Linked DNA regions of Homo sapiens: all the other regions are linked to region 5. Evidence: promoter capture Hi-C in 16 types of primary human blood cells and fetal thymus (Javierre and others, 2016). All regions are on one chromosome and are shown on one strand. The core of a region is centred on a gene start or on the middle of the fragment in contact, and the rest is flanking DNA. Distances in the headings are between cores, read along the strand shown.

Region 1 (5,516 bases), core at 200-2,699, 290 kb after region 5:
AGTGGTTGGAATTATGCACAGCTAATGAATACTTGAACCCTTTCTCTATGCAGGCAGTGATCTTGTAGACTTTGTAGACTCCATGAGTAATAACAAGCCACACAGGCAATTACACTGCACCTATCTGGATGGACCCCCCCCCACCCCCACTGCCCCAAGGCAGGCAAACTGGAGATGTGTTGTACCTGTAGGAAAATGCCCTGGACAGTAGAAACGCTCTGTCCAGTAAGTCCTATCTGTAGGAGTTTAAAGAAGAGAAGTGTTACTGTGGCCTGGAATAGGCAAGGAAGCTTCCTGGAGTTGGAGCTGAGCTTCAGGGCACAGCAGAGGGTGGAGAGAGGGAAGGCAGAGTTACAGGCAGAAGGAACCCAGGAGCAAGACTGCAAAGGTCCAGAATACCACAGCATGGCCCGGAAGCCGTGGCTGGGCCAAAGGGTCTGGCTGAGGTAGCAGAAAGTGGACCCAGGGAGCTGTAAAGGTCGTGGCCGATGGTGGGGGACTTTGAATCCAAAGCTGAGGAGCTTGGACTCTGGCCACTCTCCCTGGGGGGATTCCTCCACATGGGGGATTCCGAGTAGAAGTCAGGCAGGAGGGTGCAGGATGATGGGGTGGGGGGGTAGGCTGGAATTGGGAGGTCAGGGAGGAGGAGGACGCTGGAGGACACACTGCTGGGAACGGCATGTCAGGGAGGGGAGCGACAGCTACCCAGTGCAGAGGCCTGCTCACATTGCTTCTTGACTTCCAAAACTCTGCTCACTTTTGTTTTAAAGCTCCTTTTCTCTATATTTATGCACCAAAATATAACAATATAATTACACATATTTCTATATGCTTAGCTATTTTTCTTCCTGGGAAGAAACATGATAAAATTTGGGGGTTCTGAAGGCTTTATCCCAGGGTCCTTTCATCCCATCCTCTGTTTTCACGCAGAATTATGTATAATCCATTCCCAATAAAAAAGAATCTGGACAAGATTTGAAGAGGTCCTGCGCACAAGGAGATCTGTCACCTTGAATGGGTCTTTCACCCTGGCCTCAGTCTCACCAGCAGAGTGACCACTGTCTTCAATTCTGTATACCTTCTCAAGGCCTTCTTGATTTTTTCCCTTCCTGCCACTCTTTTGCCAGTTCTCAGCCTTCCTCTTTGTTCATACTGAATCTTCCCTGAGCTTTCTCCATCTTAACTGGGAAGACTAGGTCCAGACAGTCCCCTTTCTAAAAGCTGGGTTGTCCCGGAGCGCTTCGGGTTTGTTGATAGAATCTTCCACCTATACCTTTGTTTCCCCTCCACTATCTCACAGCAATGCCAAGTGGCTGGCTTGTGCTCAGGGCAACTATGAACCTAATATCATTTTCACTCTTCATGCAAACCCTCTTGTTCCTGTGGTTAAAGAATCAAATAATACAGAAGTGCTGTGAGCAAAAAGTGACTGTCTCTCTCCCCTCCCCTTCCTAGCCCACAGGCACAACCCCTTTTAGCAGTCTGTAGTTACCTGCAAGTCTCTAAATAATATGCTTCGCACACTGGACTTAAAACTCTGGAACGCTTTGAGTGTTTTTTTTAAAATCTCTCAAGTATTACAAACCCACTTCCAGCAAGGTCTTAAAGATCCTCACATGGCATTTTTAATAACAGCCAAAGCACAGGAAAAAGCCCGCTCTAAATTTCCTGATTGCAAATAAACCATTGAACGCTGGACAGGAGCCACTCCTAAGTCCTGCCCAGCACGCTCAGCACCATGCTGGGTGGCTCTTCCAGGACATGCATAAAGGGCATGATAGGGCAGGGCCTGGCCAGGACCCAGGATCCCTCACTGAAGGGGAAGGAGGCTGCAGAAGGCCCCTGCTTAAGGGCACAGGGTTGAGGTTCCTCAGCCCTTGCCAATCATTGTCAAGGCCACAGGTCACTGTAGTGACTTTTCCTTCCTCCCAAGGAGGCAGCCTCCTACCCAGGGACGACACCTCTGACCTCCAAGCAGGTCCAGACGAAGGCTCATCCTAGAGTCATAGAGTCAGGGTCCTCATCCTGGATTCAGAGCCGCTTCTGCTCTTCCTGGATTCAGAGCCTCTTCTGCAGATGGGCCTTTCCACACAAAGCAGTGCAATCTGGTTCGCTATGGAGACTTCCCGGGGCTTGTGGCCAGGCGTTAAAACTAGACTACAAATATCATGTCAGGACAGCAAAAATCAGGAAGTCAGAAAGTGGCTTTCATCTGTACATGAACAGGAGTAATAGTGAACACAAAATGAAATTGAGATGTGTAACTAACCCAAAAGTAGATACTCGGAAAACTGTTATCATACAATGCAGTGTTTTCCTCCTGGCTGTTAGATGTCTTCAGAGAATCCATTGTAAACTGGGCAAATCTTGAAGACTACAATGCATTTGAAGGATGCTTTCATTCTGTAAACCTAAAATAACTCTACTGATGGGAGACTTTAAACGTCTCATACAGAGAAGACAGAGGGCTAGAACCCACCAAGTTGCGGATCAATTCATCAGTCACCTTGCTCGGGTTTACAGGACTCATCCCTCGTTCCTGGTTCTACACAATTCACGGGCACTTGGAGGCCCCTCAGGAGTGGTGTTTCATGTTATTCCCACATGGACAAGCTTTTTTTTTTTTTTTTTTTCGAGACGGAGTCTCACTCTGTCACCCAGGCTGGAGTACAGTGGCGCAATCTCAGCTCACTGCAACCTCCACCTTCACATGGACAAGTTTTAGCTGTTTCCTGGGACCAGCCAGGAGACCCTTCAGGTGGCTATTGCCAGTGATGAGTAAGAAACACTACGAGGTGTAATACGCTCACCAGAAAACAAGTGTGGCGCCTGTGCGAATGGTCACGTTCCTCATGGAGGCAGGGCGTTTTCTCAACTAGATAACTGGTTTGGAAATTGCTTGGAGAGGGATCCTTTATTTTGGAAGCAACTAATTTCTACTGACCCAGGCTTAGTTGTCCTTGGGATCCAGTCAGAGAGGATCTTGGAGTGGCCCTGGCTCAACAGTAGGAGATCATGGAGGTTCTTTACCCCCTGGAGGGCCTAACAGAAAAGGGCAGGGAACCCCATAGCAGGCTTCAAAGGAAAACCTTCAGAAGGGTAGGCTGCACAGCCTTCTGAAAATCTCATTCTTCCCTTGCCCAAAGCCACATGCAAACTACCCTTGGTTGTGAACCAGCTGGATGTGAGCTGGGTCCAGTGGCACCTCACATGGCAGCATTTCATGGTGTGACTTACCTGATCACCACAGCAAACCTCCTCTAAGTACCAGCTCACAATTGGGATTCTTCTGCCATAAGCACGCTGCATATATCTGGGAGCACAGGGCTCCAGGCTGTTATTTTTCATTTCCTTCCGGAGAACTGCCTTTAGAAAGAATAGAGAGTTATTGGTGCACTGGGTCCAGTGGGGTGTGGAAGGGGCTGCCATGCAGAGGCAGAAACCAGAACAGGGACCCAAGTACAGTACTGGATAAATATTTCCTCCATGTCTTCTAATAAATCAAGGCAGACATCCCTGTTCAGGACTGGCAGACAATGGGTAGGGAGATTGATAAATAAATCAATTCTGTCATAGCCAAGAACCCAGCTGGGCCCACAGCCTCCTGCCTCTGAGCATCAACTTGGGGCAAGATGGTACAATATCATCTTATACCATGTTGTACCCATCACTTTTTGTGAAAGCGTTGGTCCCAGAGGACCTCCACAGGCACTGACCTTCTGCAGGCTTAGGAATGTTAGGAGGCCACCAGAGAAAAGGTGCGTTCCCATGGTCAACTCAGGGATGCTATTCATTACTCCTGCCACCCTCCATGGCCATCTCTGCCATCCTCAGCTTGCCTGCTGCCCCACCCCTCTGTTTCCCTGCCTGTGCCGTTTCTTTCCCTTTTGTTACCATCCTCCCCCTTTCTTCTTAGTTCTCTTGTCTTCCTTTCTTCTTTACTCATCTCATCACAGCAGACCAGGTCCCACTGCTCTGTCCCTTTTTGTCTTCCCTGCTTTCTCTCCTCCTAGCAACCCTGCTGCTCAGTGAACCAGACTCCACACCTTTCTAGTTATCCAACAGAGTTGCCTCCGCTGTCATTGGCAAAACGGGATTCTATAGATTTTTCCTGGAATGCCCCAGCCTGTTTCTTATTCTAAAGTCCTAAAGAAATTGGCTCCTTACCCTCAGTGCCTTGGAGAAAAAGCACTGCAGAATTGCACCGTGGGTGCCACACATGTGAGACCCAGCAGGGATGGACGGTTACTGCCAAGGACAAGCCCTTTGGGCTCCTCAGGTGGATGCTGCAGCAGCACCTCATTAGGGATGGGTAGCATTCTCTTCCGGAATCTTCTTGACCCTGGGCCTGAGCACAGGACTACTCCATACGTGTGGGACTTCTGAAAAGATACAATTAATGTCTCAAGTCAGCCTAGACCTTGGGGATTCCAAAACTAGCGATCCTTACTGAATACTGGAATACTGGTCCTCAGAGATGCCATCTGAGCTGAAGAAACATGCCTCCTTTGGGAAAGAGCAGAGGAGGCTCAGTTAAAGAGGGGTCTTTCCTTTTGCCTTCCTGAAGACTCACATCTCCATCTGCCTGGTCTGTGGCCACGAGGGGCAGGGGCCTGGGATAAATGAGATGGGCCCTCAGGGTTAACAGGAGCCACAGCAAGGGTTGGCCTGGTGGTTTATGTTGGTCTGTGGGGCAAGAGCTGCCCGAATGCCCCTCTGGGGCACCTAGCCCCATACAGCTGAGGGTTCCTAGCCTGAGATGGAAGCTGTTTTCCACCCAACTGGTCTTTCTGTCTTATACGTGCGGCGAGATGGCATGGATCTGTTTTTATCAAATACACAATTAAAAAGTCACACTATTAGGAAACTCTGCAGTGTGAACATATGGGCTTCTCCCAAGACTTAGAATTTTTCAGAGCCACTCGGAGTGTTGGGGGTCACGGCTCCCCAGTGCATGGAAGCAAAGAGCTGGGGAGAAGAAGCGAACACCCCCACTTCCCACCTAAAAGAGCAGCCACGAAGGTTTGGGGATTCTGGAGCGGAGAGCCCTGCGTTTCTCAGCCCCCTTTTTGGAACACGCAATCCCAGGCTTGGAAAATGGCATTTTGCTGCGTGTTGGCAAGAAATCCTGCAGCTGAAACACTTCTCTCCAAATGTCGAGCATCTTTATTTATCCAAATCTCTCCACAGTGTTTGTTTAAAGGGGAGCGCTGGAGAGTAAACTAAATCTTACAATGAGCATATGGATGGCTATAATTGCTGAGGTTTGTTTTTTTTTTTCATATTTGCTAACTCGCTATATATAAAATTGTGTTTCTATTTTATAGATTTCACACCCTGAAGACTGCTAATTTTTGCATGCATATGATTTTCACATGAATGGATGAAAATACTAAAATCTCTTCCCCCTGGAATTGTCTAATTGCCCCGACCCTACTCTAACAGCAACTAGTGGGTGGGGGCGGTGGAGACTCCTGCCATTCTCTGTGGCACCCCACTTCCCTGGAAGCTCAGTC
Region 2 (4,848 bases), core at 1,760-4,259, 310 kb after region 5:
AGTCCTGTGTTGACTACAGGTATATAGCTCAATTTAAAAATCCTAAAGCAAAAGAATTTTATTTATAAAAGAATCAAACAGTTGCATGCATGAGGCTGTGAAGTCAGATATTTAGTAATAAAAGCAGCAGTGCCTTTTTTTGTATTTACCCATTGACCCCCACCAAATGCAACTGTTTTATATTAAGAAAATAGTAACAATTTTAAAATCTCAGAGTAAAATCTATTTCACTACATGCTTTTCCCCCCTTGTTCTGATTTAAGCAGTGTGTACTTGGCATCTCTACATTGTCCTAGGGACAGTGGTGTTCTACAATATTATCATGTATGATGTTTTATTGGTGCTTTTTATTCATAGTGGCTTCTTACCAGAAACAGTAGGAAGAAACACATGAACTGTGTACAAGACATGAAACATTGCTGCTGATATGTTGTTTTTTCACATGCTTTTGAGTTTTCACTTTTTAAACGAGAGCCAGCAAGCAAAATAGATGTGGCTGGGTCTGCCTGTCCGGGCGGCTCTTTGCACCGAGCTCTCAAATCCTGTGTATTGAGGGTTCCTTTTTGGTACTCAGGATTGGAGCTACAGCTGGGCCCCCCTCTCTCCCATTCGTTTGAAGAGACACTGAGGGAAACAAGGGTTTCTTTTGAGGTGTCCTTGGCTGCCTTTTACGGGATGGGAGCCTTCTCCGGATCTTTTGTTCTTCTGCACCTCTTGTAGCTACTGCCGGTGCAAGGTTGTAGATGTTATTCCCCAGGAGCCTGGGCTTGGGGGCTGAGCTGGGCTGAATGCAAAAGCATGCAACCAGAAGGCGGGCAAGGGGAGGAAAAGCAGGCCTGGCCTCATTGGTCCCCTGGAGATGTCTGTAGCAGTCAGCTCCAGCTTGGGCCTGGGGAAGCAGCCTGACCAAGGCGCTCAGGTGTGCCTGTTACAAGAAGAACCTGCAGAAGGATAATTTGCACATGGAGCTGTGATAACACTAATGTTGATTTTTTTTTTTTTTACAAGTCATCAGAGATGTTTGCAAAGTGAGTTTTATTTTTTTGTAATTCCTTTATCTTTACTTAAAGGTGAATGTGTATTCCTCTGGGAGGAATAGGAAGAAAACAGGAATGTTAATAATGTCGAACAGAAAACTTCCTCCCTTATTAATATATAATCCTCATGTATTTATGCCTAATGTAAGCTGACTTTTAAAAAGCTTTCTTTTGTTGCATGCCCTGTGCAGGCATCTGTATTGTACATGCATGCCTTTCGTCCTGTTTTCCTGTATAAAGTTAGTGAACAAAGAAATATTTTTGCCTAGTTCATGTTGCCAAGCAATGCATATTTTTTAAATTTGTCATATATGGAAAGAGCATGTTTGTTACATGTAAAAGCTTTACTGATATACAGATATACTAATGTTTGAAGATGCTGTTCTTTGCAAGTGTACAGTTTTCAAATGTTGTTACCAGTGAAACACCCTTGTGGTTTAAACTTGCTACAATGTATTTATTATTCATTTCCTCCCATGTAACTAAGAATCATGGCTATATTTCATATCAACGTTATATTGAAAGTGAAGGGAAATGATTAATACAAGGTTTTGTAACACTGGTGTGTCTTTTTCTTTTTTTCAACATACATGATTGAATAGAAAATAAGAACTGAGGCCTGGCGTGGTGGCTTATACCTGTAATCCCAACATTTTGGGAGGCTGAGGCAGGTTGGTCACTTGAGGTCTAGAGTTCGAGACCAGCTTGGCCAACATGGTGAAACCCTGTCTCTACTAAAATACAAAAAAAAAAAAAAAAAATAAGCCAGGCATGGTGGTGCATGCCTGTAATCTCAGCTGCTTGGGAGGCTGAGGCAGGAGAATCACTTGAACCTAGAAGGCAGAGGTTGCAGTGAGCCAAGATCGCACCACTGTACTCCAGCCTGGGCAACAGAGGGAAATTCTGTCTCAAAAAAAAAAAAAAAAAGACGACAAGAAGAAGAAAAGAAGAACTGAGTCAAATAGCCCCCTCAAGGAAAAACCAGAATGGGATCTCTGTTAACTATTCCCACCTGGCCATTCTGCACATGCCACATCTTTAGCTATGAGCTGCTTTTTAACAAAAATATGGAGAGAGGGTTTTAGAAATGTTTGCAGTTTGATCTGTGCCCAAAACAGCCAATAAATTTGTCACCAGACTTAGGGGCATGTTTCTAAATACAAACTCTAACTTTACAGACATTGTTGTTTATAGCTTGTTCCCCTCATTGTCTTTGAAATATTTCACACCTTAATCATGGCATCAAGAAACAGCCTCTTTGGAGCTTACCTATCCATGGCTTGAATCTCATTCTAATATTTCTAATTCCTGTACGATATACATTCTAAATATTGTGTCAGTTAAGCATATGAGTGGAGAGATGCACCTGGTTTTGAATTCTGGCTCAAGCATTCTCTAGCTGTGTGATCTTAGACAAGTTACTTATGTCTCTAAGCCTTGGGTTTGTTTTTTGGCTTATGATATTCAAAGTTTATATAATTAAACCTCTAATAAAAGGTGAAAACAAAAGAAAACATATGATAGAGAGGTTCCTGCCACCATAGCCTAGCAACCCCAGAGTTCTGAGAGGCAGCCACAGCTTGACATTATGACAGTGACCACACAGTGACTCCCTTTTGATCAGGCTCAGCTGCTCAACTGACATGTAAAACCGAAATTGGTCCCTGGAAGCAAAATTTCTCACAGGCTGAGATGTAAAATGTAATTCCTCATAAAGTTGAATCCTTGTAACCCAGATGAGCTATATCTAGTATGACTGCAGTATTATAAAGGAAGGAGAGAGGAGTGTGCAAGAGAAAATTTGAGCCTCACTTTGAAATGCGTGGAATGAGGGTAAATGTAAGAGTTGTGAGCTTAAAGGAGAGGGACCATGAAGAGCTCAGCATGGTGTCTGAAGAGGGGTTGCTTAGTGATTTTTATCAGCAAAGCTGTAGCTCTTTGCCAGTGATCTTTGTTATAGAATGTTCATTCCTGGAGAAAACATTACCCATAGAGGAAAGCAGCTAGGACGCCCCTCAACAGCCTCCCTTCCAAAATGAGATTTAATGCCACTTGTTAGAGGGGAATGAACATGTATATAGCACAATGGTTTGGAAGAGGCTGCAGGGGATTTGAGCCGGGAGTCCAGAAGTGGGTCTTATCTGCACATACTCTATGTGCTAACGCAGACAGGAGCTAAAGAGGCAGCACAAGCCAGGAATTCAAACTCTGATGGAAGTTTCTTGTTCCCTTGGACAGTCACTACATCTATCACTGGACCTGACTCACAATCAGCCCAAGACCTACTGTCCCCAGTGGTTGTAGGGAAGGTTGGGGGACAGCGCCTTCATCAGTGAAAATGTCATCCACAACCAGTGCTTAATCCTTCTCTAGGAAAACATGGAGCCTTTAGGGTGGCTCTGGCCCACCCAAGAGCACCATTGTGGCAGCCCACACTTTGCCATTTTCCCCCATAGTGCACCCCAGCACCAGTCTCACAGATGTCATTCCACAGGCTTCTGTAAGCACTTCCACGTTTGCTATTTTCCATCCATACCTCTTAACACTTGAAAGCCACCCCTTCACTGGGCCCTTCAGCCTCTGGACCCTTAGCAGTAGCTCTAGGTCCTCCTAGCTTATCCAGTGAGTCTCAAACCATCTGTGAATTCCAGTTGTGATACTGGTTGGTTTTTTTCCAATTTACATAGTCCAATTATTTTGTAAAATACAATAAAAATAAACTCACAACTTCCCTCCCCCAATATCTTATTTAACAGACAAAAGTATTTCATCCAACTGCTATAAAGTATTTCTATTCTGGCTCCCTAAGTTCTGAGGGCAACCTGCAAAATTCAGTATGGGAGACTGCTCTCAGGATGAGATGATGGAAATCCTGATACCAACATACCCCTAACCAGGCCAAGAATGCCCTCAATACAATAGAGAGGGACGCATCAGGTCAGAGGGGTGCCTCAAAGTTGGCCCAAGAATGGCGACTGATTTGTTCACTCATCATTTCTAAAAGCTGAAAGCAAAATAGTTGGGAAAGGGGACATGGGGAAAGAAGAGGAAGGTCCAGGAGGTAACGGGACTGGTGGTGGGAGGTTAGAGCCTGAACTGGAAGTCTTTGGAAGTGGGTCAATTTTTAGAGCGCTGTTTCCAGAGCAACCCTTAGACCATGGCCTTTAGACTTCCCACTGTCGGTTTCTGGCCTCTAGAGATTAAGAACAAAGAATGATGTGTGTGTGTGTGTGTGTGTGTGTGTGTGTGTGTGTGTGTGTGTGTGTGTGTTTCTGTCTATACATTTGGGAGACATGATTGGGAAATTGGGACACTTTGGCAAAACTTAAGCCTTATAACTCAGTCATCACTGAGGAGCCTGGAGCCCCATTGGAGCAAATGATTATTCACAGTGCACACTGTCCTCCCAAACTTCAACCCAGCCCACTGGCTTCCCACAACCTGCCTTGCCCATGGGGCTCTTGTCCACAGACATTGACTTCTCTGTGACGTAAACCTGGGAATTCAATGTCCAAGAATTTCCTCCATGGAATATTTTTCACTCTTAAGTGGTTTCTACTTCAATTTTTGAAACCAACAGAGAAATGTTCTGGCAACCTTATAAAGCTTGTGCTTTATAAAATATCCCTTTGTGTTTACGTTTGACTTGGAGTGCATGTTTTTAAATAGTGTGTTGCACAGTTTTTTGAGGTTTTGTTTTTTAAGTCTAATCCAGGAGAAACAAAATCGGAGCTTTGGTGAGTGAAATGGTCCTACCAGAGCTGTTGTTACTTGGGACTGCCAAAAAGCTCCAGTTAAATCTTCCTGTGGG
Region 3 (5,191 bases), core at 2,617-5,116, 410 kb after region 5:
CGAGCTGGTCTGAGCTGGTCCAAGGATCAGCTTGTGATGTAGATTCAAAGGACAGCCAGTTCCTGGGAGAGATGATAGCGTCTCCTCCAGCCCTCCCTCCTAGCCCATGAGCTACAGTCCAGTAGGGAATAGTACTAGGAAACCTATACAACCCTGACACCACCCTGGTCACAGATGACCACAGATGCTCCCATGGAAGGTACACACTGGAAAGTAGGGAAAAGGTGCACAAGGAGACAGTCATGGAGAGACGCTGCAACGTAGGGAAAACTGAACAAATTCCCCAGAATGCCAGGAATTTGGATCAATCCACACAAGAGGCACTGGGAGGAAAAATGGATTTTGAAGAATGTAAAATACCAACTTATTTTAAATTTTACAACACTTAAGTCAACATTACTAACCAGGAGTTAATATATAGAATACAGATATATAAAAGATATAAAGTCCTGTATCCTGTTTACAAGCACAGAAAAGTGACCTTCAGAGAAGTATGTTCTTATCCAAAAACAATATATAGTGGCCACTTGACTCATGCTCTCTAAAGAAATAAAAGGGATTGTGCAGAAGCGTTTATGGACCTAAAGATGTGGGTTCCCACTCACTCCTATCTCCCACCAGTATCCTTCCTTCTCCCTGCCATCCAGGTTGGTCCAAGACCCCACCACATTTCAGGTTCATTCCTTTAAGTTCAGCATCATCCTTGTTCTCACTACTCTGTCTTCTCTTTAATTATATATCTCTTTAAAAAAAAAAAAGAAATATTAAATCCTTAAACAGATCCCCTAGATACAGGCTTTCAAACTTTTGACTACAACCTACAGTAAGAAATGCATTTTACATCTGGAGCCAGTGCACACACACACAATTATGCCTATAAAACCTACATAGAAGTTTCTCGGCCGGGAGCGGTGGCTCACGCCTGTAATCCCAGCACTTTGGGAGGCCGAGGCGGGCGGATCACAAAGTCAGGAGATCAAGACCATCCTGGCTAACACGGTGAAACCCCATCTCTACTAAAAAAATACAAAAAAAAAAAATTAGCCGGGTGTGGTAGCGGGCGCCTGTAATCCCAGCTACTCAGGAGGCTGAGGCAGGAGAATGGTGTGAACCGGGAGACCGAGCTTGCAGTGAGCCCAGATCGCGCCACTGCACTCCAGCCTGGGCTACAGAGTGAGACTTCATCTCAAAAAAAAAAAAAACAAAAGAAGAAGTTTCTCAAAACACTTGTCCTTACTATATGTGATAGACTGATCTTATCCATTCTACTCCACTTTTTGTTTTTTTTTTTTTTTTTTGAGATGGAGTCTTGCTCTGTCGCCAGGCTGGAGTGCAGTGGCACAATCTCGGCTCACTGCAACCTCCGCCTCCCGGGTTCAAGTGATTCTCCTGCCTCAGCCTCCCAAGTAGCTGGGACTACAGGCACGCACCACCACACCCAGCTAATTTTTGTATTTTTAGTAGAGACGGGGTTCTTGATCTCTTGACCTCGTTATTTGCCCACCTCAGCCTCCCAAAGTGCTGGGATTACAGACTTGAGCCCCCGTGCCCAACCTCTACTCACTTTTTTTTTCTGAGACTGAGTTTCGCTCTTGTTGCCCAGGCTGGAGTGCAATGGTGCAATCTTGGCTCACTGCAATTTCCGCCTCCTGGGTTCAAGCAATTCTCCTGCTTCAGCCTCCCAAGTAGCTGGGATTACAGGCATGCACCACCACACCTGGCTAATTTTTGTATTTTTAGTAGAGAAGGGGTTTCTCCATGTTAGTCAGGTTGGTCTCGAACTCCCAACCTCAGGTGATCCACCCGCCTCGGCCTCCCAAAGTGCTGGGATTACAGGCGTGAGCCACCGCGCCCGGCTACTCCACTTTTTTTTTTAATGCTGTTGACCCAATTCACAGTTTGAAATATACAGATAGGGTACACTGATTCAGTTCTCTCTGTAGCAGTATAAGGAAGTGGCTAAGAATTCTGCAGTCAGACTCTCTGGATTCAAATACCAGCTCTACTACTTGTGTCAACCTCTCTGCCTCAGTTGCCTTGTCATGGGGATAAGAGAAATGTTTACTTGAAAACTGGAAGATGAACCAAGACCATCCAACGTAAAGCTTTTAACCCATTAAAAAGTACGGTCATGCATTGCTTAACAATGGGGATACATTCTGAGAAACACCTGAGAAATGCAGTTTCATATCGCAAACACTGAAGGAAGAGAGTGCTAACACAAACCTAGATGAGATAGCCTATTACACACCTAGGCTACACGGTAGAGCCTATTATTCCTAGGCTACAAACCTGTATGGCATGTTACTGTAATGAATGCTGCAGGCAACTGTAACACAATGGTATTTGTGTATTTAAAGATATGTAGGCCAGGTGGGATAGCTCATGCCTGTAATCCCAGCACTTTGGGAGACCAAGAGGAGAGGATCACTTGAGCCCAGGAGTTCGAGACCAGCCTGGGCAAAACAGTGAGACCCTGCCTCTATATTTAAAATACAAATAATAATAATTTTAGAAAGACATCTAAACATAGAAAAGGTACAGTAAAAATATAGTAGAAAAGACTTAAGATGGTATGTCTGTGTAGGGCACTTACCATGAAAGGAGCTTGCAGGATTGGAAGTTGCTCTGGGTGAGTCAGTGAATGCATGGTAAGTGAATGTGAAGGCCTAGGACATTACTGTACACTACTGTAAACTTTATAAACACTGTACACTTGGGCTACACTAAACATATTTTTTCTTCAATAATTTCAGCTTAATGTATTTAAAACTTTGACTCTTTTGTAATAACACAGCTTAAAACAAAAACACATTGTACAGCTGTGCAAAAATATTTTATATCCTTGTTCTATACCTTTTTCTATTTTTAATTTTAATTTTTATTTTTATTTATTTATTTACTGTTGAGACGGAGTCTCACTCTGTCAACCAGGCTGCAGTGCATTGGTGCAATCTCGGCTCACTGCAACCTCCACCTTCTGGGTTCAAGTGATTCTCCTGCCTCAGCCTTCCAAGTAGCTGTGACTACAGGTATGCGCCACCACATCTGGCTAATTTTTACATGTTTAGTAGAGATGGGGTTTCAACATGTTGGCCAGGCTGGTCTCTTTCTAACTCCTAACCTCAAGTAATCCGCCCACCTTGGCCTCCCAAAGTGCTGGGATTACAGGTGTGAGCCACCATGCCTGGCCCAATTTTCTTAATTTTTAAATTTTGTTAAAAACTAAGACATGGGGGAGACGAGAGGAAAAAACTAAGACACAAACAAACACATTACTCTAGGCCTACACAGGTCAGGATCACCAAGACATCACCAGACAATGTGAATTTTTCAGCTCCATTGTAATCTTATAAACCACCTTCATACATGTGGTCCATCATTGAAGGAAACATCATAATGTAATGCATGATTATATTCAATTAATGGCTTATAATAATCTTAAATGGGCTGGGTATGGTGGCTCACACCTGTAATCCTAGCACTCTGGGAAGCCAAGGCAGGCAGATCCCTTGAGCTCAGGAGTTCAAGACCAGCCCGGGCAACATGGCAAAAACCCGTCTCTATCAAAAATACAAAAATTAGCAGGGCATGGTGGCACAAGCCTGTAGTTCCAGCTATTCAGGAGGCTGAGGTGGGATCACTTGAGTCCAGCAGAGTGAGACTGCAGTGAGCCGAGATTGCGCCACTGCACTCCAGCCTAGGCAGCAGAGCCAAACCCTGTCTCAAAAACATGAAAATAAACATAATAATAATAATCTTAAATGGTCCGCTCCATGGACTTTTCTTTTCTGAAACAGGGTCTCCCCACGTTGCCCAGGCTGTTCTCCTGAGCAACAACTATCCTCCTGCCTCAGCCTCCCTAGTAGCTGGGACTGCAGGCACGCCACAAAACCTGTCTTTATATTGTGGTAAAATATATATAAAATTGGTCATTTTTAGCCATCTTGAAGTTACAATCCAGTGGCATTCACAATATTGTGCAACTATCACCACTCTCTAGTTCCAGAACATTTTCATGACTCCAAAAGGAAGCTCCAAAGGAAGCTCCATACTCATTAAACAATCACTACCCATCCCCCTCTTCTCGCCAGTCCCTGACAACTACTAATCTTGCAGTGTCTCTACATCCATGGACTTTTTTTTTTTTTGAAATGGAGTTTAGTTCTTGTTGCCCAGGCTGGAGTGTAATGGTGCGATCTCGGCTCACTGCAACCTCCGCCTCCAGGGTTCAAATGATTCTCCTACCTCAGCTTCCTGAGTAGCTGGGATTACAGGCACCTGACACCATGCCCGGCTAATTTTTGTATTTTTGGTAGAGAATGGGTTTTCCCATGTTGGCCAGGCTGGTCTCGAACTCCTGACCTCAGGTGATCCGCCCGCCTCGGCCTCCCAAAGTGCTGGGATTACAGGTGTGAGCCACCGCGCCCGGCCCATGGACTTTTTAAATAGTAAAACTTGACCAGAACAGTTTTTTTGTTTTTTTTGTTTTTTCTGGAGACAGAGTCTCCCTCTGTCGTCCAGGCTGGAGTGCAGTGGTGCAATCTCGGCTCACTGCAACCTCCTCCTCCTGGGTTCAAGTGATTCTCCTGCCTCAGCCTCCCGAGTAGCTGGGACTACAGGCGCCCGCCATCACACCCGGCTAATTTTTTTGTATCTTTAGTAGAGACGGGGTTTCGCCATGTTGACCGGGCTGGTCTTGAACTCCTGACCTCAGGTGATCCGCCCACCTCGGCCTCCCAAAGTGCTGGGATTACAGGCGTGAGCACCGAGCTCGGCCAACCAGAACAGTTTTCTAATGTGGAATGATGTGTTCTTTGCAGTTATTAATCCTCTTTAAATGAATCTTCGCTCATGAGATATTTCAGCTAACCATTTCTCAAGTAAATCTGTGAGTCACTTTAGATAATTCTGTGACCTGTCTCAGGGTCAGAAATTCCTCTCTCTTTGGGTAATTAGATCCATGCTAGATTACAGAACACTGTCCTATGAATTCTCTTTAAGGGAGGATTCCCAAAGCCTGGCCGATGCTGTGAAGTAAACCACTTTCTGTGTCTGCAAGGGGCAAAATGAGTAAGGCCTTAAGAAGACATTTCATTACATTGTGAAATATCTCACACACACACACACACACACACACACACACACACACACACACAAATTTAAAGCCCTAGACCTCCAAAGAGCTGAT
Region 4 (5,235 bases), core at 2,182-4,681, 370 kb after region 5:
GAATCTATGACTTTACTAAAACACTGAGAACAAAACAAATTTTACCCTAGGCTAATTGATATAATAAGAATTAAGCTCCCATAGCATATTTCTGGTCACAAAAACGTCAACAAACTTCCAAATAAACACAAAAACACTTCTAATATTAAACACTAAAATAAATGTGAGTGATACATACATTTAAGAAAGATTAATGGAAAGATATTGATTTCCCCAATTATTCCAGTTCAAGGTCTCAAGTGGCTGGAGCTTTTCCCAGCAGTTCAGGGTACAAGGCAGGAACTGACCCTGGACAGGACACTATCCCATCACAGGGCACACACATCCACCTACTCTCACTCAGACTGGGACCACTCAGATCAGATACGCCAAATCACCTAACGTGTGCATCTTTGGGATGTGGGAGGAAACAGAAGCACCTGGAGGAAACTCACAGATGTGGGAGAAAACATGCAAACTCCACACAGACAGTGGGTCCCAGCAAGGAATTTTTTTTTCTCAATCATACTGAAATGACATTGAATGAAACAACATTATTCCAGGACTGTTATATGCCACTTTGCCTGAAGTCATTTCGCTTCAAGTTGCAGTCTCCAAGAACCCATCGACAACGTAAAGTGAGGACTTACTGTACTTGTTTTATATCCTATCTCTGATAGTTCTACTATCTGCCCTCTTCCATCGTGTTTGTCTGACTCGACTCATGGTACTCCTTGGAACTTCATCTTTGGGTATCCTTCCAAGCCTGGATAAAAGTGCATCAGAGAACATGCACTAGTTTCTGCTAGCTGCCTGCAAGGATACCTCTATGGGGATGTTTTATTTATTTTTATTTATTTATTTTTGAGACAGAGTTTTTGCTCTTGCCCAGGCTGGAGTGCAATGGTGCGATCTCAGCTCACTGCAACCTCTACCTCCCGGGTTCAAGCAATTCTCCTGCCTCAGCCTCCTGAGTAGCTGGGACTACAGGCGTGTGCCACCATGCCCAGCTAATTTTTGTATTTTTAGTAGAGATGGGGTTTCACCATGCTGGTCAGGCTGGTCTCAAACTGCTGACCTCAGGTGACCCACCTGCCTTGGCCTCCCAAAGTGCTGAGATTATAGGCATGATCCACCATGCCTGGCCTTATGGGGTCGTTTGAAACTAAATTATTCCATTTGATTTTTTGAAGGCCACACAGGTAGTACTAATTCTGATCCCAAACTTTATGAATGTGTCTATGAGTTCCTTTTTCTTTTTCCTGCTCTTCCTAGAATAATGCTAATAGGTAAGTATCGTCCTTGATTTGGGATGGGAAAAGGGAGGACAGAATCCAGACTGTGGCTTTAGTGCTAATTCCAGTGGATTCTCACTAGAATTGCCTCATGCTTTCCCGAAAGTGTAAAATGTACATATGCATTATATCTTGATACGCTGTGCCAAGAGGGGCATTATTAATCTAGTTCACCACACCCAGCATCAGTAGTTGTCAGTTTTAATCTAAACCATTCTTACATTCTTGGACTAAACATCCCTGGGTCATGTTGAAAACAGTACTTCTATACTAGCCTGACATTTTAAGATTCTTACAACTACATTAATCAGTGAGATTTGCCTATCATTTTTTTTTTTTAATGCTAGGCTTATCAGGCTTTGTTATCAAGAATAGGCAGCTTCATCAAATTAATTGACACTTCACAGGTTTCTCTACGCTCTTGAATTATTTATACACATGCAAAATTTGTGGTTACTTGAAAGCTTGAAAGAACACTTATAAAACTGACTGGGTCCAGGCACTTTCCCCCAAATCATTAATTTGACCTTTTCTAATGGTTATTAATGTATGCAGGCTTTCAAACTCTTGGTCCATTCCTTTCTCTCCCCATCTTTTTAAAAAACGTATTCATCAAGATGTAAAGATTTATAAAGCATATTTTTAGTTACATATCGTCTCATTCCTAGATATCAGACTCCCCAGCAACCTATGATACAAGATTTTCAACTTGTAGATTTGTGATTTCTGTTCTTTGGCTTTTTCTAAATTATTCTAAATAAGGAGTTTGGACTTTAACTGAAAAGCTGTGGTGAGCCACCAAAGGAGCAGCATGATCCAATCCACACTTTAGAAAGAACATCCCAGCAGCTCATGAGGGCAAACTGAAGGATCCTCAGAGATGAGAGGCAGGGAGGAGGCAGGAGCTTAACATTCCCTCCAGGAGGAAGATAAGAAAGGCCCAGCAAAGACCTGCAGCAGGGAGGGCAGGAAGGCAGGAAGTGGGGGTGCTGCACCTGCCGGGCAGTGAGCACACGCAGCAGTGGATGGGTTCTGCCTCACTCCTCACCCCAAAATACACTCCAGATGGAGCAAAGATTTAAATATAATAATGTGGCCATACAAGTACCAAAAAAAAAAGAAGTTTGTGAACTACAGAAAAGTTTTAAACTTCTTTATGGAAATATAATACTATAAAGCAAAATCAAAAGACAAATGACGAGCTGGGAAGCATTGTCTGTAGCACCTGACCTGACTGCTTTAACATTCAGAGCTTGTGCAAACCAAGAATAAAAAGACAAATAACTCAGTGGAAAAATTAATACTGGAGCTAAGAACAGGAAGTGTCTGAATAGATTCAACCTCGCTCTATTAAGGAAATGCAAATTAAAATAGATACTATTTTTTACTTATCAGTTTGGCAAAGATTTAAAAGTGTGATGAAAAGTGTGTTGGCCGAAGTGTGGAGAAACATACACCACCCCTTACCTATGTATCTATTTATTAGAGTATAAACTGGCATGGTCTCTTTGGAGAGCAATTTCATAATATCAAAAATTCGGCTACCCTTTACCCATCAAGTTCCATACTAGTAATTTAAACTTCAGATAGATTCAAAGCACACAAAGATAATAAAATTTGTTCACCAGGGTACTTTTTTACTTTTTGGCAAGTCTCAAACTGCAAACTGTACTTATCTATAGCAAATACTGGTTAAATGAATTGTATTAATCAAAGAAATATTAGGTAGCTATGAAAAGAAACTTGGACTTTTTGGACTAAAAGATGTCCAAAGAACTTCAAGGTATTTTAAATTTTTAAAAAGCTGGCCAGGGCCAGGCGCGGTGGCTCACTCCCGTAATCCCAGCACTTTGGGAGGCTGGGGTGAGCAGATCACCTGAGGTTAGGAGTTCAAGACCAGTCTTGCCAACATGTTGAAACCCCATCTCTACTAAAAATACAAAAATTAGCTATGCGTGGTGGTACACGCCTGTAATCCCAGCTACTCAGGAGGCTGAGGCAGGAGAATCGCTTGAACCCAGGAGGTGGAGGCTGCAGTGAGCCCAGATAGTGCCACTGCACTCCAGCCTGGGCGACAGAGAAAGACCCTGTCTCAAAAAAAAAAAAAAAAAAAAAAAAGCTGGCCGGGTGCAGTGACTCATGCCTGTAATCCCAGCATTTGGGAGGCCAAGGCAGGCTGATCACTTGAGGCCAGGAGTTCGAGGCCAGCTTGGCCAACATGGAGAAACCCTGTCTTTACTGAAAATACAAAAATTAGCCAGGCATGGTGGTGCACATCAGTAATCCCAGCTACTGGGGAGGCTGAGGCAGGAGAATCACTTGAACCCAGGAGGCAGAGGTTGCAGTGAGCCAAAATCGCACCACTGCACTCCAGCCTGGCCGACAAAGCAAGACTCCATCTCAAAAAAACACCAAATAAAATAAAATTTTAAAAAGCAAGTTGTAGTACAGAATATAAGATATGATCTTATGTTTGTGCTTGCATAAATATTTTCCAGAAGGATAGTGAAAGAAATCTCTAGTTCTAACTCTGGGGAATGAAAATAGGTAAGAAAAGTTTTCACTTTATTCACTCATTTGTATTTAAATGGTATGTTGCTTTTATAGTCAAAAAAGAAAAAAAAATACTGCTCCCTCTGTAATCTAATACTCACCTCACTTACTCTTACTTCCATCAGTCAATCTGGTTCCCATCCACTGGAATAGGCCTTGCTCCTACCCTCTGACTGGTCTTTGCTCATGCATTAACTATACCTAGAGAAACTTCTCCCCCATTTAGAATTCTGCTCATCCCTCCACCTCCAGGTCTATTCACCTGCCAGGCCACAGCCATCATGGCTCCTCTGAACTTGGAGCTACAGCAGGCATTTCCATGGCACTTGCAGTCTTGCCCTGTGCACTCTCCTTGAGGGTGGCTGCCATGTCCTGCTTCTTTAGCCTCCACAGTAGCTGGCACAGTGCCCACCCAACAGGTCAGCCATGGCTACCTGAGATACTACAACTCTAAATTCAAGATTTCGTACATTCACTCAATTATTTATTTATTTATTTATTTTTAGTGACACAGAGTCTTGCTCTGTCACGAGACTGGAGTGCAGTGGTGAAATCTCGGCTCACTGCAACCTCCGCCTCCCAGGTTCAAGCGATTCTTCCATCTCAGCCTCCGAAGTAGCTGGGATTACAGGCGCATGCTACCATGCCCTGCTAATTTTGGTATTTTTAGTAGAGATGGGGTTTCACCATGTTGGCCAGGCTGGTCTGGAACTCCTGACCTCAAGTGATCTGCCCACCTCGGCCTCCCAAAGTGCTGAGATTACAGGCATGAGCCACCTCACCCAGCCGAGGCTCAGTTATTTCTAAGGGAAGAAAATGAATACATGTTCAATGGCTTTTCAGCAACAAAAGAAAGTTCTATTCAAACTAAGTTTATTCTAGAATTCTACTAGAGTTGAGCCAGATCAACTCACTTCTGGCATTTTCTTGTTACTTAAGGCTTTACTGCTTGATATTTGACTTCACTGGCACTGAAAGGTCATTCATTTAAAGGCAAGCATATAACAAACTTCATATATAAGATTAAAATGAGCAGTGAAGTTTTGCTAAGACATTCAGCTTTTATTCCTCTTCATTCTCTAAATATTCTTACTTCTTATAAGGAATAAGTAGTTGGATAAAATCTTAGTCTTCTTTTCTATTTAATAGACTCTTTATTCAAATTTTTTGCAAAATATTTGAAAGCAACATACACTTGGTTCTTTGGCTTCATGTTCCATTTTATTCTTAAATTTTAATCCTATTAGTCTAAGGACAAATCCCCATGCTAATAATCAACTCCTTTGTATTGTTTCATAAAAGCTTAATTATTTGAGATCTTTTCCTTTCACTTGGAAAGGAAATAACTAAGATTATTTCCTTCTACCACCAGGTTGCCATTTATTGTATGATCTCACTGAATCACTCA
Region 5 (4,976 bases), core at 1,595-4,094:
GCTACTCGGGAGGCTGAGGCAGGAGAATCGCTTGAACCCGGGAGGCTGAGGTTGCAGTGAGCCGAGATTGCACCACTGCACTCTAGCCTGGCGACAGAGCGAGACTCCATCTCAAAAACAAAAACAAAAAAACAAAAACAAACAGACCCCAACTCTCAGCATATACAAAAATCAAATCAAAATGGATTAAAGACTTAAATGTAAGATCTGAAACTATACAACCACTAGAAGAAAACACTGGGCAATTGCTTCAGGACATTGGTCTGGGCAAAGATTTTTTTGAGTAAGACCTCAAAAGCACAGACAACTAAAGCAAAATAGACAAATGAGATCATATCAAGCTAAAAAGCTTCTGAGAGGAAAGAAAACAACGAGTGAAGAGACAACCTACAGAATGGGAGAAAATATCTGCAAATTCTCCACTCAACAAAGGATTAATAATCAGAATATACAAGGATCTCAAACAACTCAATAGCAAAAAATTCCCATTTAGTCCTAATAATAGTTAACATGTATCAGACCCTATGAGAGAAACACTGTTATATCCTTTACATAGATTTCCTTTTATGTTCAAAACAATCTCACGAAACAGATACTATTATTACTCCCATTTTGCAAGAAACTAAGGTTTAGAGAGGTTAAGTATCTTTCCCCAATTACATAGCTAGTGGAGCCAGGATTCAACCCAGGCAGCCTATCTTAACTCACTCTCTTAACCACTACAAAGGAGGTGGTGACAGATTGGATATTGGGGGTGGGGGTGGGGTGTGAGTAAGCAAAAAAAAGGGTTACCAGATATACTAGGCTTCTGGCTGGTATAACAGATTGTCTTGTATAACAGACAGAAGACTAGGTTTGAGGAGAAAGGGCATGAGTTCTACTTTGGACAAACTGAGGTGGCTTTGAGGAGACCAAGTGGAGGAAAAGCTTCCCAGGGGAATGGTAACTAAATATTGAAATATTAATATATAGATCTGGGGTCAGGCGCGGTAGCTCACGTCTGTAATCTCAACACTTTGGGAGGCCGGGGCAGGTGGATCACTTGAGGTCAGGAGATCGAGACCATCCTGGCTAACATGGTGAAACCCCGTCTCTACTAAAAATACAAAATTAGGGCCGGGCGCGGTGGCTCACGCCTGTAATCCCAGCACTTTGGGAGGCCGAGGCAGGTGGATCACGAGGTCAGGAGATCGAGACCATCCTGGCTAACACGGTGAAACCCCGTCTGTACTAAAAATACAAAAACAAAATTAGCCGGGTGTGGTGGCGGGAGCCTGTAGTCCCAGCTACTCGGGAGGCTGAGGCGGGAGAACGAACGGCGTGAACCAGGGAGGCGGAGCTTGCAGTGAGCGGAGATCGCGCCACTGCACTCCAACCAACGCGACAGAGCGAGACTCCATCTCAAAACAAACAAACAAAAAAACAAAATTAGCCGGGCGTGGTGGCACATGCCTGTAATCCCAGCTACTTGGGAGGCTGAGGCAGGAGAACTGCTTGAACCTGGGAGGCGGAGGTTGCAATGGGCCGAGATCCCGCCATTGCACTCCAGCCTGGGCCACAAGAGTGAAACTCCGACTCAAAGAAAAAAAAGTACATACAGATCTGGATTGGATCTCAGAAGCAAGGTCTTCTGAGCTGTAAATTCACAAGTCATCTGAATATAGATGGTAACTGAAGCCATAGTTTAGGATGAAGAATACAGAATGGAAAATGAAGGATTAGGATGAAACCTGGGACTCCTTCGAGCATTGTCCAGGGAAAGGAGAATAGTCTGAAAGGGAAACAGATGGACCAATAGGAGAAGTAGGAGGAGCTCTGTATCCCAGAAGCCAAAGGGGAAGAATGAAGGAAGAGAATGCTTCAAAAACAAGAGAGTATAACACTCTGGAATGCAGCTAAAAGGTCAGAGAAGACGAAAACTGAAAAGAATCCATTCGATTCAGTGACCATGACAAGATCTATTCGATGAAAGTGGGCTGAGAATTGAGTGGATGGTCACAGAGAGCAGTGTTTTGTTGTTTCTAATGAAATTTACCCATATTTTAAAACCTAATGGGATGGATCCAAAAGATCCTTGATGGCGATTTATTTAATTTTCCACTTTATTTTTATGCTTGGGGTCCATCCCATGTAAGAACAGAAGCCACAGCCCCCAGAACCAACAAAACTAAAGTTATTGACAATTACTTTAAGGCCCAGTGCCAAAGCTTTGGGTCGAAAGGTTTCCAACTGCCATAGGAAAGCAAAGATAAGGAGAAATCCTCTGTAGGAAGCTAGGGAAAGGAGCAGAGAGAAAGAAGCTAAGGTGAGGCCGAGAGAATTCAATCGGAATTCGAGTCCTCCCCCAAAACGCCGCCAGGTGGAAGATGCTCGGGGCCCACCAACCCCTGGAACCTGGCCACGGCCCTGGCAGGGAAAGCAGGAATTGAGGGAGCCCTCCGATGGGGCAGACCCCTTTCCCTCCAACCTACAGCTCAGAAGCTGAAGCCCTCCAACCAGAAGGACCTGGCGTGGGGCCTCCCCAACCCCCCTGCTCGTGGCCGCACCCTAGTCCCATGGCCCGCTGGGCGGGTCCACCCCGGGCCCAGCTGGAAGATGCTGCCCTGAGGCGTGGTGGCGGCGGCAGAGGCCAAGTACTCTAGCTATGGGCACTGGCCAGCTGCTGGGAGCGGAAGCGGCCGCCGAGCCCTCCTGGGCGCTGCCCGCCGCCGCCGGCTCCGGAAACCGGGAAAACCCGGCTGGCCGGCTCGCCCAGCCCTCCGGCCCCCGCCCTCCCAGCGGCAACTCACCATTTTCCTTCCGGCCGTCAGCGGCCTGTCGCCTACACTCGGGCGCCTTTAAGAATGGCACGGCGGCCGCCTCCCTTCCTGCCCCGGCGCCTGGCCCAGTCGCCCCCACCTATCAACGCGGCCTCAGCGGGCCGGCACGTGATGGCGGACGGCAAAAGGCGCGGCTCAAAATTAGACAGAATGCGATCGCCTGATTTTTTTTTTTTTTTTTTTTTTTTTTTTTTTCTTTTCCCTGCTCCCTCTAGAGGAGGACGCTCTGCCTGGCTGCAAGTGAGAAACAAACCCAAGGTGCATACTTAAAAGTCATGCCAGTTCTCCGGACCTTTTTCGCAGTCTTCAAGCTCTGAGAGCATGTTAATGGTGACATCAATGTTTTCAATGGTAAATGTGTGTACTGACCGCAGCCTACCTTCCAAATTTGATCTCCCTCAAATCTAGGCACACCTCCTTTCCTCCCACCCTCTCCAGAACCCCACTTCTGACCACGGCTGCCTTCCAGGACTTGGTTAATCAATCTCTCTCTCTCTCTCTCTCTCTTTCTCTCTCTCTCCCTCCCCCTTTCCCTCTCTCTCTTACACACATTTCTTCTCTCTCACACACACACACATTTCTTCTCTCTTCTCTCACACACACACATTTCTTCTCTCTCTCTCTCGTCTCGCTCTGTTGCCCAGGCTGGAATGCAGTAGCACGATTATAGCTCACAGCAGCCTCAAACTCCTGGGTTCAAGCAATCCTCCTACCTCAGCCTCCCCAGTAGCTGGGACTACAGCCGTGTGCCACCACACACCCGGCTAATTTTTAAATTTTTTTGTAGAGATAGAGTCTCCCTATATTGCCCAAGCTGGTCTTGAACTCCTGGCCACAAACAGTCTTCCTGTGTGCCTCCCAAAGCGCTGGGATCACAGGCGTCAGCCACCATGCCCAGCCTCTTTTCTCCATACAAGTTATTTATTGAAGTATGAATGAATGATGATTGGTGTTTCAATGAGCACTCTTATGGGCCACTGCCTAAGTAAACATCAAGAAGTCTCTGTACCAGATGCAGACTTAGTGGAACAAGTCCAGTTTTGAATGCATGAAGAAAGTGGTTTGGGAGAAGTAAAGTTTAGGCTCTAGGATTCAACAGGTACCTTCAATAAAACAAACTGCCTGGGGCAGTACCTCATTTTGTTATGACCATGGGTTCTTGGTCTCTCAATGCAAATTGACCTGAGGCCAAAAGAGTTTCTCCAGGCAAGGCTTCATTGGAGCTTATGCCGGAGCATAAGGGAGGCAGCATAAGAGAATGAGAGAATTCCCTGACTGACTCTCCTAAAAGAGCACAACAAATTAGGGGTAGTTTATGCAGGTCAGCATTATCTGTTTGCCAGGGTTGTCTTGAGTAATGGGCCACCCAATGGTCTGGTTTGCGGCAACAAGGCTGTGAATCAATTGTTCAACATTCCTCTCCAAGGTGGGACACTCTCAACCTTGGTTATCTCCTAAGGCCAGTCATTGGAATTCTTTAAATAAAAGGACTATTAGCAGTAAGGTAGTGGTGTGGGTTTGTCATGAGTGGAAATGCATGAAAAAAATGCTCTAGTGTGGGTGAGCTGAAGCCAAGCCCCATTTCTACTGTTTTTCATTTCCCCTTATAAGATTTTACCTTCCTTATTCTTAAGGAGAAAGGGCCAAAGATCTTATCTTCTAAAGCTACTTCCTGCTGAACAGGGTTGTCATCCCTGCTTAACCCCGGGGGGCATGGAAATCTCTCACCGACTGTTCTACAGACTTGAAGGGACTTGGAATAGTTGAAGCCTGGAAGACATAAACTTTAACAACTGTACCCCTATTGAATATAACAAATAATTATTTTAAAAGCCAAATAGCACCCAGTGATAACTAATAAAATGCTTAAGCTCAGTTTAATAATGATTGTAGGAAGAGATTAGATGCCATTTGGAATCTAAGTGAATAGTCTCCTGTTGTCTGAAATATAAGGCAACAGACTTTTAATAAGAGGCATTTCTATGGAAACAGAAGAAAAACAAACGTTAATGGTTGGTATAATCTATCCAGATGTTAGACTCAAAGCATCTTTAGTTACAGAGGAGGAAGGCAGTGGCAATGTGACATGTTCTTCTTGCTTGTATCACAAGAAATAAGCTTCAGCTTGCAGGGCCTCAGAAAAAAAGGTAGTAGGAA

The links. The method cuts DNA at HindIII sites, captures the fragments that hold promoters and counts their contacts. A CHiCAGO score of 5 or more calls a contact.
Region 1: a contact is called between a fragment that was not itself captured here and the fragment with the promoter of GMFB in region 5, in 4 of 17 cell types (activated CD4 T cells, monocytes, naive B cells and 1 more). The highest score is 6.1, in activated CD4 T cells.
Region 2: a contact is called between a fragment that was not itself captured here and the fragment with the promoter of GMFB in region 5, in 1 of 17 cell types (M0 macrophages). The highest score is 5.5, in M0 macrophages.
Region 3: a contact is called between a fragment that was not itself captured here and the fragment with the promoter of GMFB in region 5, in 1 of 17 cell types (total CD8 T cells). The highest score is 7.3, in total CD8 T cells.
Region 4: a fragment that was not itself captured here is called in contact with the fragment with the promoter of GMFB in region 5 in 2 of 17 cell types (total B cells and monocytes); the score reaches 5.9 in total B cells.

Annotation. Positions count from the first base shown.
Region 1 is chr14:54,777,065-54,782,580 of GRCh38, forward strand. All of the region lies in intron 11 of SAMD4A (sterile alpha motif domain containing 4A), which reads left to right. Among named protein-coding and RNA genes, the nearest start is that of SAMD4A-AS1, 92 kb to the left of the region's middle. The HindIII fragment of the contact is 2,323 bases long and covers 289-2,611 here.
Region 2 is chr14:54,791,717-54,796,564 of GRCh38, forward strand. It overlaps SAMD4A (sterile alpha motif domain containing 4A), which reads left to right. Exons shown (of 13, transcript NM_015589.6): 13 at 1-1,596. Among named protein-coding and RNA genes, the nearest start is that of MIR4308, 84 kb to the right of the region's middle. The HindIII fragment of the contact is 3,264 bases long and covers 1,378-4,641 here.
Region 3 is chr14:54,895,731-54,900,921 of GRCh38, forward strand. The region is part of intron 1 of GCH1 (GTP cyclohydrolase 1); the gene reads right to left. Among named protein-coding and RNA genes, the nearest start is that of GCH1, 4.5 kb to the right of the region's middle. RefSeq lists an enhancer at 1,681-2,181. The HindIII fragment of the contact is 3,526 bases long and covers 2,104-5,191 here.
Region 4 is chr14:54,852,138-54,857,372 of GRCh38, forward strand. The region is part of intron 3 of GCH1 (GTP cyclohydrolase 1); the gene reads right to left. Among named protein-coding and RNA genes, the nearest start is that of MIR4308, 23 kb to the right of the region's middle. The HindIII fragment of the contact is 3,391 bases long and covers 1,737-5,127 here.
Region 5 is chr14:54,486,136-54,491,111 of GRCh38, forward strand. It overlaps GMFB (glia maturation factor beta), which reads right to left and starts at 2,845. Exons shown (of 7, transcript NM_004124.3): 1 at 2,790-2,845. The coding sequence starts at 2,792. RefSeq lists a silencer at 2,528-2,927. The HindIII fragment of the contact is 2,730 bases long and covers 2,206-4,935 here.